2 separate regions of the Homo sapiens genome follow, and region 1 is linked to region 2. The links are contacts of gene promoters, found by promoter capture Hi-C in blood cells and fetal thymus (Javierre and others, 2016). All regions are on one chromosome and are shown on one strand. Each heading gives the region's core, a stretch centred on a gene start or on the middle of the fragment in contact. The rest is flanking DNA. Distances are from core to core; before and after follow the strand shown.

Region 1 (5,105 bases), core at 150-2,649, 98 kb after region 2:
TGCCGTATACTCAGGGGTGCCCTGGGTTTGGGCATAGATGATGTACACCCCTAGTTCCTGGTGAAACCCAGGTCTGGGTGAATGGAGCAAATCCAGATCCTTCTAATGGGATAGGGAAGCAGACTGGCTCCTGTTCCCTGTCACTGAGTGATCCAAAGGACCAAGGCCAGGGACCCTTGCACCAAACCGTGCTGTCAGATTCTGTCTGCCAGCGGGGGAGCCCAGGGAAGCCCAGGGCCGCTGCAGTCACCTCCAGGCAGTGCACGTTGCTCAGCAACCTCTTTGCAACTGTGAGCTGCTCCACATCCCTGCGAAGAGCCTTCTTTTGCTTGAATTAGCTGGAGCTGGTTTCTCTTGCAGGGAACAAAGAAGCTTCCTGTTAGCAAAATGAAGTTTCCTGCTTCAGCAAGAGAAAGGCTCCTTATGGGGAGATGGGAGAGGGGAGTGGGAAGACAGAGGCCCTGGGTATGGGTGCTTGGAGATTCTCTCTTTCCTGGGGGTGAAGGGGAAAGGGAGAGGGAGATTGTATGGCCAGACCTCTTCCACAGCCTTAAAACAGGGATGTAAGCCCTTTTGACAATTTCACTTGAATTCCTTGGGAAATACCAGGTTAGGGTGTTTTCTTGGATGAAAACTCGGGTGGTGCAGGCAGCAAAGCCCATCATCGACGGCCCCAGGGAGCCACGTGCAGATTCTTCCCTTTCCTGCAGTGTGCCCTGGCCTGCAAGGCCCTGTCTAAGGACGCTGGGGTGGACTGAGGCTGCCACAGGAGGGCATGGAGGGTATGGAGGAAAAGGAAAGCTGCTTGATTCATCGGCATCTGACAAAGTGTTCTGTCTACACCATGCCTGCTGCACGAGGCACCTGGTCAGATGTTGGCCCTTGCTGCCCACTAAAGGTCAAAGAGGTGATGGGGATCCCCCTTCCCCACATCATCCCAGGAATTCTCTGACTGTCCTTGGGTCTCTCTGGGAAGACTTCTCGGAGCCCCTGGCCCCAGCTGGGGGTCCCTCCTCTGTGATCCCATGGCACCCTAACTTTCCACAAGGAACTGGGGTGAGTGAGGGTCTCTTGAGTGCAGGGAGCTCATTCAGGTTTATTATGGAAGCTGGGTGACAGTGATGGTTGCATGGTTGCACAACTTTATAAATTTTCTAAAAATTACTGAATTGTTAAACAAGAAAGAAGGAAGCAAAAGCTGTTTTGTTGAAGGATGTACATGGAAATAAAGAAGACAGGACTCTCAGCTCCGTGCAAGCCTGCCCGGGTCCCAGGACAGGCTCACAGCAAGACCTCCCGGGAGGTCCCCATGGGGCCTGGAACACGGCTCAGGTTTGGAAGGGCTTGAGGGTCCAGGGAAGTCTATTGGCTCTGCTCTATCCTTCCTGCCTTTCGGTCTCTGTCTCCTACCACCGTTGTCCCAGCTGGCGGCCACTATCTCTGCTGGCCTCTCCACCCGTGTCCATCACTGGCAGCCTGAGGATGGGCTACCTGTGAATCACGTGCTCCTCCCTGGTCCAGTCAACCACGGCGGAGGAGATGGGGCCATGTGAGATGCCGCCTATGGGGCCGCCTGGAGCTGCTACCTTCAGCAGGGGCCTGGCAGGTGCTCTGAGGCTTTGTGTGTTTTTCTCCACCTCTGTGCCAGGAGGCTGCTGCCCTTCAAGTCTTGTGGGGACACAGTCATGTCCATTCACACTGTCTGCAGTGGCTGCTTTGGAGCTACAGCAGACCACGGTAGTTATGACAGAGACTGTATGGTTTGTAAAACTGAAAACACTTGTAATCTAGCCCTTTGCAAAAAATTTCCCTAATGCCTGCTCTGAACTATAAACTCTTCAGGGAAGGGACTAGGTCTTGTTCATCTCTGGATCTTCAGAACTTAGCAGAGTGTCAGACACATAGTAGAAGCTCAATAAATTGTAGGAGCTCAATTAAATAGATAAATAGATGGAGTCTGGGCTGAATCTGTGCAGTCTATGTCCTTTACTTTAAAAAGAGGCTTCCCGGCCGGGTGCAGTGACTCACACCTGTAAGCACTTTGGGAGGCCAAGGTGGTAGGATCGCGTGAGCTCAGGAGTTTGAGACCAGCCTGGGCAATGTAGTGAGACCTTGTCTCTATTAAAAATAATAATAATAATAATAATAACTGGGTGTGGTGGTGTGCTTGTCATCCCAGCTACTTGGGGGGCTGAGGTGGGAGGATTGCATGAGCTCGGGAGGTTGAGGCTGCAATGAGCTGTGATCCTGCCACTGGACCCCAACCTGGGTGACAGAGCGAGACCCTGTCTCAGAAGGGAAATAAATAAAAGGGGGCTTCTCCTAGACAACACTCTCCTCCTGCTCCTGCTCATTGAACAAGGTGACCAAATGTCCCAGTCTGTCCAGGACTGAGGGAGACCAAGGCTACTCAGTGTTAAAGCTTGGAAAGTTCCAGGCAAACTGGGATAATGTGGTTCCTTATATTGGATACCTGGCCTCTCTATATGTTGAAGCAGCTGCCTACCTCATTTGGGCAATGAATCCACTGTAGTTAGCCAGGTAGAACCATGTGTGCCTAGTAGAAATAGGAATACACATAATCAGCTGCATAACAGATTCAAACAACATAACAGTGTAAAGGAGCAAGGCAGTACCTGGTGGTAGCAGTTGTGCTGAGGATTCTGGGTGTTACCAGTGAAGCGGGTAAGATCTCGTGGGGCTGGGATGATGGAGAAAGGCTTTCTGGGAAGCTGGAGTCCACTCAAGTCTTGATTGGATGAGACAGAATCATCTCTGGCAGAGAAGGAAGGCAGCGACCTTACTGGTGCACGAGGTCCCTGGTGTCCACGTATCAGTCCCCAGGGAAAATTCGGATTGGTCACATGTCATCTCCTGAGCCAAGTTCTGTGGCCAGAGAAATAAGGCGCCGACTGGCCAGTCAGGATCACACGCCCATCTCAGAGGCATGTTGGGTGCTGACTGTGGTACTAAGAGGATCCCGTGAAGTGGAAGTGGAGCTCTGGAAGGAACTCAGCATGGCTTGGTTTGGGTTTCTTGGAAAGCAGAGCGGGAAACAAAGGCTCCTGTGCCCCTCCTTTGGTAGGGAGGTGACCCCAGGGAGCAGGTGTGAGAGAAAGGGGAGTGTAGCTGGGAAGGAAGTGGTGCCAACTCCAGGGTGTGTTATGGAGCTGGCCGAGGCTTGGTAACAAACATAACTGCTTGCTCGACCCCAAGGGCCATCCTCCGGGAAGCTGCACAAATGTTTCTCGGCACAATCCTTTTGGGAGAAAAGGAGAATAATTTGTGCACAGGCTCCCAGCTCGCGTTGGGTCGCCTGAAGGGTATTAATTGCCTCTACTTGCTGGTCGTGGATGGATGGATGCAGTGTCTCCCATCCTAGTATCCAGGCAAGCCTAAGGGGTGCATAGCTGGGACCTGAGGCAGGGGCTGCTGGGTGTGCCTGGGTGAAGCCTGTCTGAGTCCATGCAGAGTTGGTGGTCTCAGCTGTGGCTGGGGCCAGTGGCCAATGGCCCACAGATAAGTGAGAGGGTCCAAAGTAGCACATAAGAAGTGTCTCACAGAAAAGGAACTTGAGAGCATGGGGTCAGATAAAACTGAGTCACCACTGTCCTCCTCAAGAACACCTGGTGTCCACACCTCTAACCAGGGCTTCCTGGTGTTTGCACAAAGAGATTATCAGGTGGCCAGGAACGATCAGACTGGAGCAGTCATTGGGTGGAGGGAAGGTCAGCTGTCCTACTGAGATCCAAGGACAGTCCTTAGCCCCTGCTAAAAGGAAGAGGTGGAATTAGTTAGTCCCCTCTGTGGAATCCAGAAAACTCCTCTAAAAGTTGCTCAGCAAATATTTAATGAAGCTGAACAGAAGTCATAAACCCCAGTTCCCTTGTTTTCTTGCCTGTAGTGGAGTTTCTGACACAGCCAAGGGTGTGGATGTGGGTGGAGCTCCAAGGTCAATCAGCGTGGTTTGAAATTTTGCCAAAGGACCTGGAGAGGGTGGCAAGCTGCTGGGTGGCAGAACATCACGGAGGAACCATGTCCACCCAGCCCCAGCCCCCAGCCAGAGAGGGACGAGGAATGTGGCCTCAAGCCTACACCGTGCAGGAGTCTGTCCAGCTTACCGTGTCCTTGTCAAGCCCCAGTCCTCCTCTCTCTGCAGGAGCCAGAAGGTCATAAATCCAAGGAGCCCAGTCCCATTTCTTGGCCTTCAGGGCTGGGGAGGGAGAGGGTGACCCTTGGTGGCTGTTTATGGGGCCGGTCATCATCTACCTGAACGGGAATAGTCAATTCTTCTGCAGTCTGACGGGAACATTGCCAAGGTCAAAAAACCTGTGAAGACATTGGCCTTGGTGGCACAGTATGACATTTATTTATTTATTTACTTATTTATTTCTTTATTTTGAGATGGAGTCTCCCTCTGTCACCCAGGCTGGAGTGCAGTGGCTCTATCTCGGCTCACTGCAACCTCTGCCTCCCAGGTTCAAGCAATTCACTGCCTCAGCCTCCCGAGTAGCTGGGATTACAGGCGCCTGTCCCACACCCAGCTAATTTTTTGTATTTTTAGTAGAGACGGGGTTTCACCATCTTGGCCAGGCTGATCTTGAACTCCTGACCTTGTGATCCACCCATCTTGGACTCCCAAAGTTCTGGGATTACAGGTGTGAGCCACCACGCCCGGCCTAGTATGACATTTAATATGAATTAAACACATAAGTCCCCTTGTTTGCTTGGTTGGTCTGGGTATACCTGTCCCCACAGTGCCCTGGAACTCCCCCATCCTAACACTTAGCGCACTGTCCAATAACTTCCAGTTTCTTCTTCTACCCGACTAGACCATCAGCCTTGCGAGAGTAGGGTTCGTTTCTTGTTCGCCTTTCCATGCCCAGCACACAGCCCAGGGCCCACCACCCTGCCCAAGGCCCACCACCCTGCAGGCTCCGCAGCAATGCTCCAAAAGCCCGTTTTATGTCTTGGTCTAGACATCAGGTCTACCCAGACAAAGAGGCAGAAGAGTGTGGCCCATCTTGGGGATAGCAGGTCTGTGAGCTCCTAGAGGACAGGGGCAGCATGCTGCTCCTCTCTGTCCCCAGTCCCCAACAGGGCCC
Region 2 (4,551 bases), core at 963-3,462:
TATATTTAGCACTCTCATCTCCATCACTTATTTATTTTATGCCCACACAATCCCGGGGGGTAAACTGTGGCCCAGGGAGTGTGGCCTGTTCAAGGCTATGGAGTCGTGGGCACTGGCTCATGGCAGATCCAGGAGATGCTCGGACAGAGATGTTCTTCCTCTTGTGGAGACTCCTAGGCCTCTTGGAATGGAAAGGTCAGTGCTGTGGTTTAAAGTGAGGGTTCTGGAGTCAGAATAGAGTGGGTTTCCCTTCTCAGGGCTACCAGCGTCTGCTCAGGAGCAACCTGTTTGACTCCTATGAGCCTCAGTTTCCCCATCTATAAAATGGAGATAATATGGAAGAACTTTTATAGGATTATCACGTGTGAAAATTAAGACACCTGATCTGAATGCTAGGTACACAGTAAATGCTTAGTGATAATGTTAGTTTGCTATCACCATTATTGTTAGTAGTATAAACCAGCCCACCTCCTGAACTCCACTTGAATTCCCTCTACACAATCCAATGCTTATACAGACACTGTTTGGCTCCCAAGAAGACAGGGAACCACTTTTCCTGACAGCCATTCCATTTTCAGACAGAGCTAATTGTTGGGAAGTTTTTTATGTTGAGCCGAAGGCTTTCTGTCACTAATGTCTTCCATGGGTAAGATTGCTAATTTAGCAAATAAAAATATAGGATGCCCATGCAATACTGGGGACACACATACTAAAAATATTATTTGTTGTTTACTAAAATTAAAATTTAACTGAGAGTCTTGTATTTTGTCTGGCTATCCTATCCATGGGCCTGTATTTGTCTGTTTTCACACTGCTGATAAAGACATATCTGAGACTAGGCAATTTACAAAAGAAAGAGGTTTGTGGAACTTACAGTTCCACGTGGCTGGGGAGGCCTCACAATCATGGTGGAAGGTGAAAGGCACATCTCACATGGCGGCAGACAAGAGAAGAGAGTTTGTGCAGGGAAACTCCCTTTTTTAAAACCATTAGATCTCATGAAACTTATTCACTATCACGAGAACACCACGGAAAAGACCCTCCCCCGTGATTCAATCACTTCCCACTGGGTCCTTCCTACAACACCTGGGAATTCAAGAAGAGATTTGGGTGGGGACACAGCCAAACCACATCAGACCCTTAGATCTCTGAGGACAATAAGGAACAAGTCTATTCACATCTTCCACTTGACAGACAGACATCCTCCAATTCCTTCAATTGACTGTCATACACTAAATGGTCTCCCTGATCCTTCTCATCCTCCATCAACCCAGACTATCTTCCTTGGACTAGTTTGTCAGGCATCTTTTACAGCCCAAAAGGATAGCTTGATGAGGACAGAATAAAGCAGTATCATCACCTCCCTTATTCTAAACCATATACTTCTATAAATGCATCCTTGGTTTTTATTTTTTAGCAGTTGCATGGCACTGCTGATTCCTAGTGAGCAAGTATTACTATGGAACCAAGTTAAATGTTTATATGTATGTGTGGCTGTCTTCAGTGAGACTCAGGATGATGAGAAATGACAAAACCCAGGAATCCTGGTCTCTTGGGTAGAAACAAAAACAAAAACCTTCCCACTCTACAGCACAGCTCCAGGATACACGTTAACCATGCATCACTATCCTACAAGAACCAGCCTTTGGGATGACCCAGAACTCCATCAGCAGGAAGGCTGGAACTGCTGAAGCTAGAAGACAGCCCACCTGCTTTCCTGGATTGAGGGGCTGCCTTCACGTTAGCATCTGGAGATAAAAGGCAGCAAGAGGAGCGGCGGATTTCGGGTGCTGGAAGGGCTTGGAATGCTGGCTGCCGGGAGGTGGTTTCAAGGCTGGAATGCTGTGGTGTGGATTCAGGGCTAGGCTGCTGTGGTGTGGATTCAGGACTAGGCTGCTGTGGTGTGGATTCAGGGCTAGGCTGCTGAGAGGTGGAATTGGAGCTAGCATGCTGGGAGGTGGAGTCTCGGTGGCGTCTGGCCTCTGACCTTTTCTTCTTGACCTTCTTCATGGTAGATCCTCCCAACCTAAACGTGGACCTACATGGAGCTGCGTAATCTCCCGGCTCCCTCCTGGAGGGGCCGTTTGCCCTCTGCCCTAGGAGCCTGGCTTGGGCCTCCAGCTGGACCCAGGCCCCACAGAGAACAGTGACCCACACCTCCTGTGAGGTCATAAAAGCCAGGGTGGCTCCTATGGCAGGGCTTCAAGGGACAGTCTTCTCTGCAGACACCAGCCTGGTGTCCTCCTTCATCCCAGGCTGCCAGGCTAGGCAGGGGACAGCGGCTGCCCTGGTCCTCACAGCCCTGGCTACGGGGCTGGTGACAGCCAGATCCTCATGCTTCTGCGACCTGAGCGCTGCCTTCAGACACCTCTCTGCTGGCGTGTTCCTGGGTCCATGTGAGCTACCTGTTTTGCTCTAAGATACCCTGGATGTGACGCTCAGCTCTGTCACTGGCTTCCACATACCCCCTACTCCTACACCTCAAAAATCCATGTTCCCCACGCATTCATCTTCAGGTCAGCTTCCTGAAGATTTGGAGCTTCTTCGAAGGCTTTACCATGGCCCAGAGCCTGCTACCATCTCAGAGTAGCTTACCCCTTCCCCCAAAGCCTGCCCTCCCGCACTGTGGGAGGGGAGTTTGGGGGTTGACTTGACTTTTATAAGAACCTTTGCATTTGGCAGATAATTTTCCCTGAGAACATAACAGCTGTTCAGAAAACTAACATTTGTCTCAAACTCATGGCAATGGCAACCACAGACTATCTCCCAAACCCCAATTGGTTGGGTTAAACAGGTGACTGAATCTTTCTCTAGATTAATTAATTTAATGTGCTCATTAAATGTGATTTTTGTTTTAGGATGGAAGAAGGAAAAGTATTTTTAAAAGACAATCTGAAGCTCATACTGTGACTGCAACATAAAATGTGTTCACCTGAGGAGACTGCTTTCATCGCCAGTGTGTCACAGGTGGGTGAGTGTGGGACTGGCAAGCGCAGGAGCTCCTGCCCCAGCGGAAGGTTTAGAGCAGACCTATGCAGATAAAAAGGGCTTCGGTCACGCCTGTAATCCCAGCACTTTGGGAGGCTGAGGCGGGCAGATCACGAGGTCAGGAGATTGAGACCATCCTGGCTGACATGGTGAAACCCCGTCTCTACTAAAAATACAAAAAATTAGCCGGGCGTGGTGGTGGGTGCCTGTAGTCCCAGCTACTCGGCAGGAGAATGGCGTGAACCTTGGAGGTGGAGCTTTCAGTGAGCCGAGATCGTGCCACTGCACTCCAGCCTGGGCGACAGAGCGAGACTCTGTCTTAAAAAAAAATGGGGGGCTTTGGGCCACACAAAGCCAGACCCAACATGAACTCTGAAATGACAGGACATAGTTTAGGGCTTCTAGAGCCTAAAAATACCTTAATGATGACCTTTCCTCAGAACACTGAGGTTTAGCGAAATTAAGTTACTTTCCCAGGGTCACACAGCTGGCTGGGGGCATCGGAAGGACTAAATTCCAGTTTGGGGCTCATTATTTTCATGATCCCAGAAAACAATAGGGAGTCAGATAATTATACAGGCTTTGAAATAATGAATTAAAAAGTCCCCCAGTGGCCTGGTGCGGTGGCTCACGCCTATAATCCCAGCACTTTGGGAGGCTGAGGCGGGCAGATCATGAGGTCAAGAGATTGAGACCATCCTGGCCAACCAACATGGTGAAAACCTGTCTCTACTAAAAATACAAAAATTAGCTGGGCATGGTGGTGCACGCCTGTAGTCCCAGGTACTCAGGAGGCTGAGGCAGGAGAATCACTTGAACCTGTGAGGCGGAGGTTGTGGTGAGCCGAGATTGTGCCACTGCACTCCAGCCTGACGACAGAGTGAGACTCGTCTCAAAAAAAAAAAAAAGGTCCCTGAGCGAGAAGATTGAAGAAAACAAAGGCAGGAAGGATCAGAAGTGAAGGCAAGCTCAGCTCAAGAGTATTGGGTTGTGTTTGGTTGACCTTGGCCTAAGGAGGCTCTGGGAGCAAGTGAATCTGTATGAAGCTGGTAATTTCCTGAAGCCAAGAGCAATGGAACCCTTGAGGGGACTCCATTTAGAATCAGAGAGACTGGAAACCGAGGCCGGGAACCCTGTTGAGATCTAGCAGACAGCTCAGGAACTCCTAAGGCATTAATCTCTGCAAAGTTGGATTTTCAGGTACCAATGGGCTTCGGCCGAGGGCCTCAACCTGGTTTAAATCAGTGTTTTTCAACCTCAGCCCTGTTGACATTTTTGGGCTGAGTAATTCTTTGTTGTGGCGGGTCATCCTGTGTATTGTAGGAAGTTTACCAGATCCCTGGTCTTTACCCAGTCTTTACTCCCCCCTACCCCAGGACAACCCAAAATGTCTCCAGATATTGCTAAATGTCCCCTAGAGATGGGGTAGGAGTGTGTGTGTCCACATTGCCCCTGATTGTGCCATGTTGGTGTAAATGAATCAGATAGGAGCAGACACATATAGGTAGAACTTCCTGGTAGCAATGAAAGAAATATTCCATTTTACCAGAAGGAGCCAAACAG

The links. Contacts are between HindIII fragments. The CHiCAGO score rates a contact against its expected background, and 5 or more counts as called.
Region 1: a fragment that was not itself captured here is called in contact with the fragment with the promoter of SPATA3-AS1 in region 2 in 14 of 17 cell types (M2 macrophages, M0 macrophages, M1 macrophages and 11 more); the score reaches 21.5 in M2 macrophages.

The regions. Positions count from the first base shown.
Region 1 is chr2:230,894,622-230,899,726 of GRCh38, reverse strand. GCSIR (GPR55 cis regulatory suppressor of immune response RNA) reads right to left here. Exons shown (of 4, transcript NR_038238.1): 2 at 4,122-4,329; 3 at 2,637-3,768. Among named protein-coding and RNA genes, the nearest start is that of GCSIR, 11 kb to the right of the region's middle. The HindIII fragment of the contact is 2,050 bases long and covers 375-2,424 here.
Region 2 is chr2:230,993,693-230,998,243 of GRCh38, reverse strand. It overlaps SPATA3-AS1 (SPATA3 antisense RNA 1), which reads left to right and starts at 2,212. Exons shown (of 6, transcript NR_033879.1): 1 at 2,212-2,396; 2 at 2,859-2,967. It overlaps SPATA3 (spermatogenesis associated 3), which reads right to left and starts at 2,123. Exons shown (of 5, transcript NM_139073.5): 1 at 1,710-2,123. The coding sequence starts at 2,010. RefSeq lists an enhancer at 2,079-2,612. The HindIII fragment of the contact is 18,304 bases long and covers 1-4,551 here.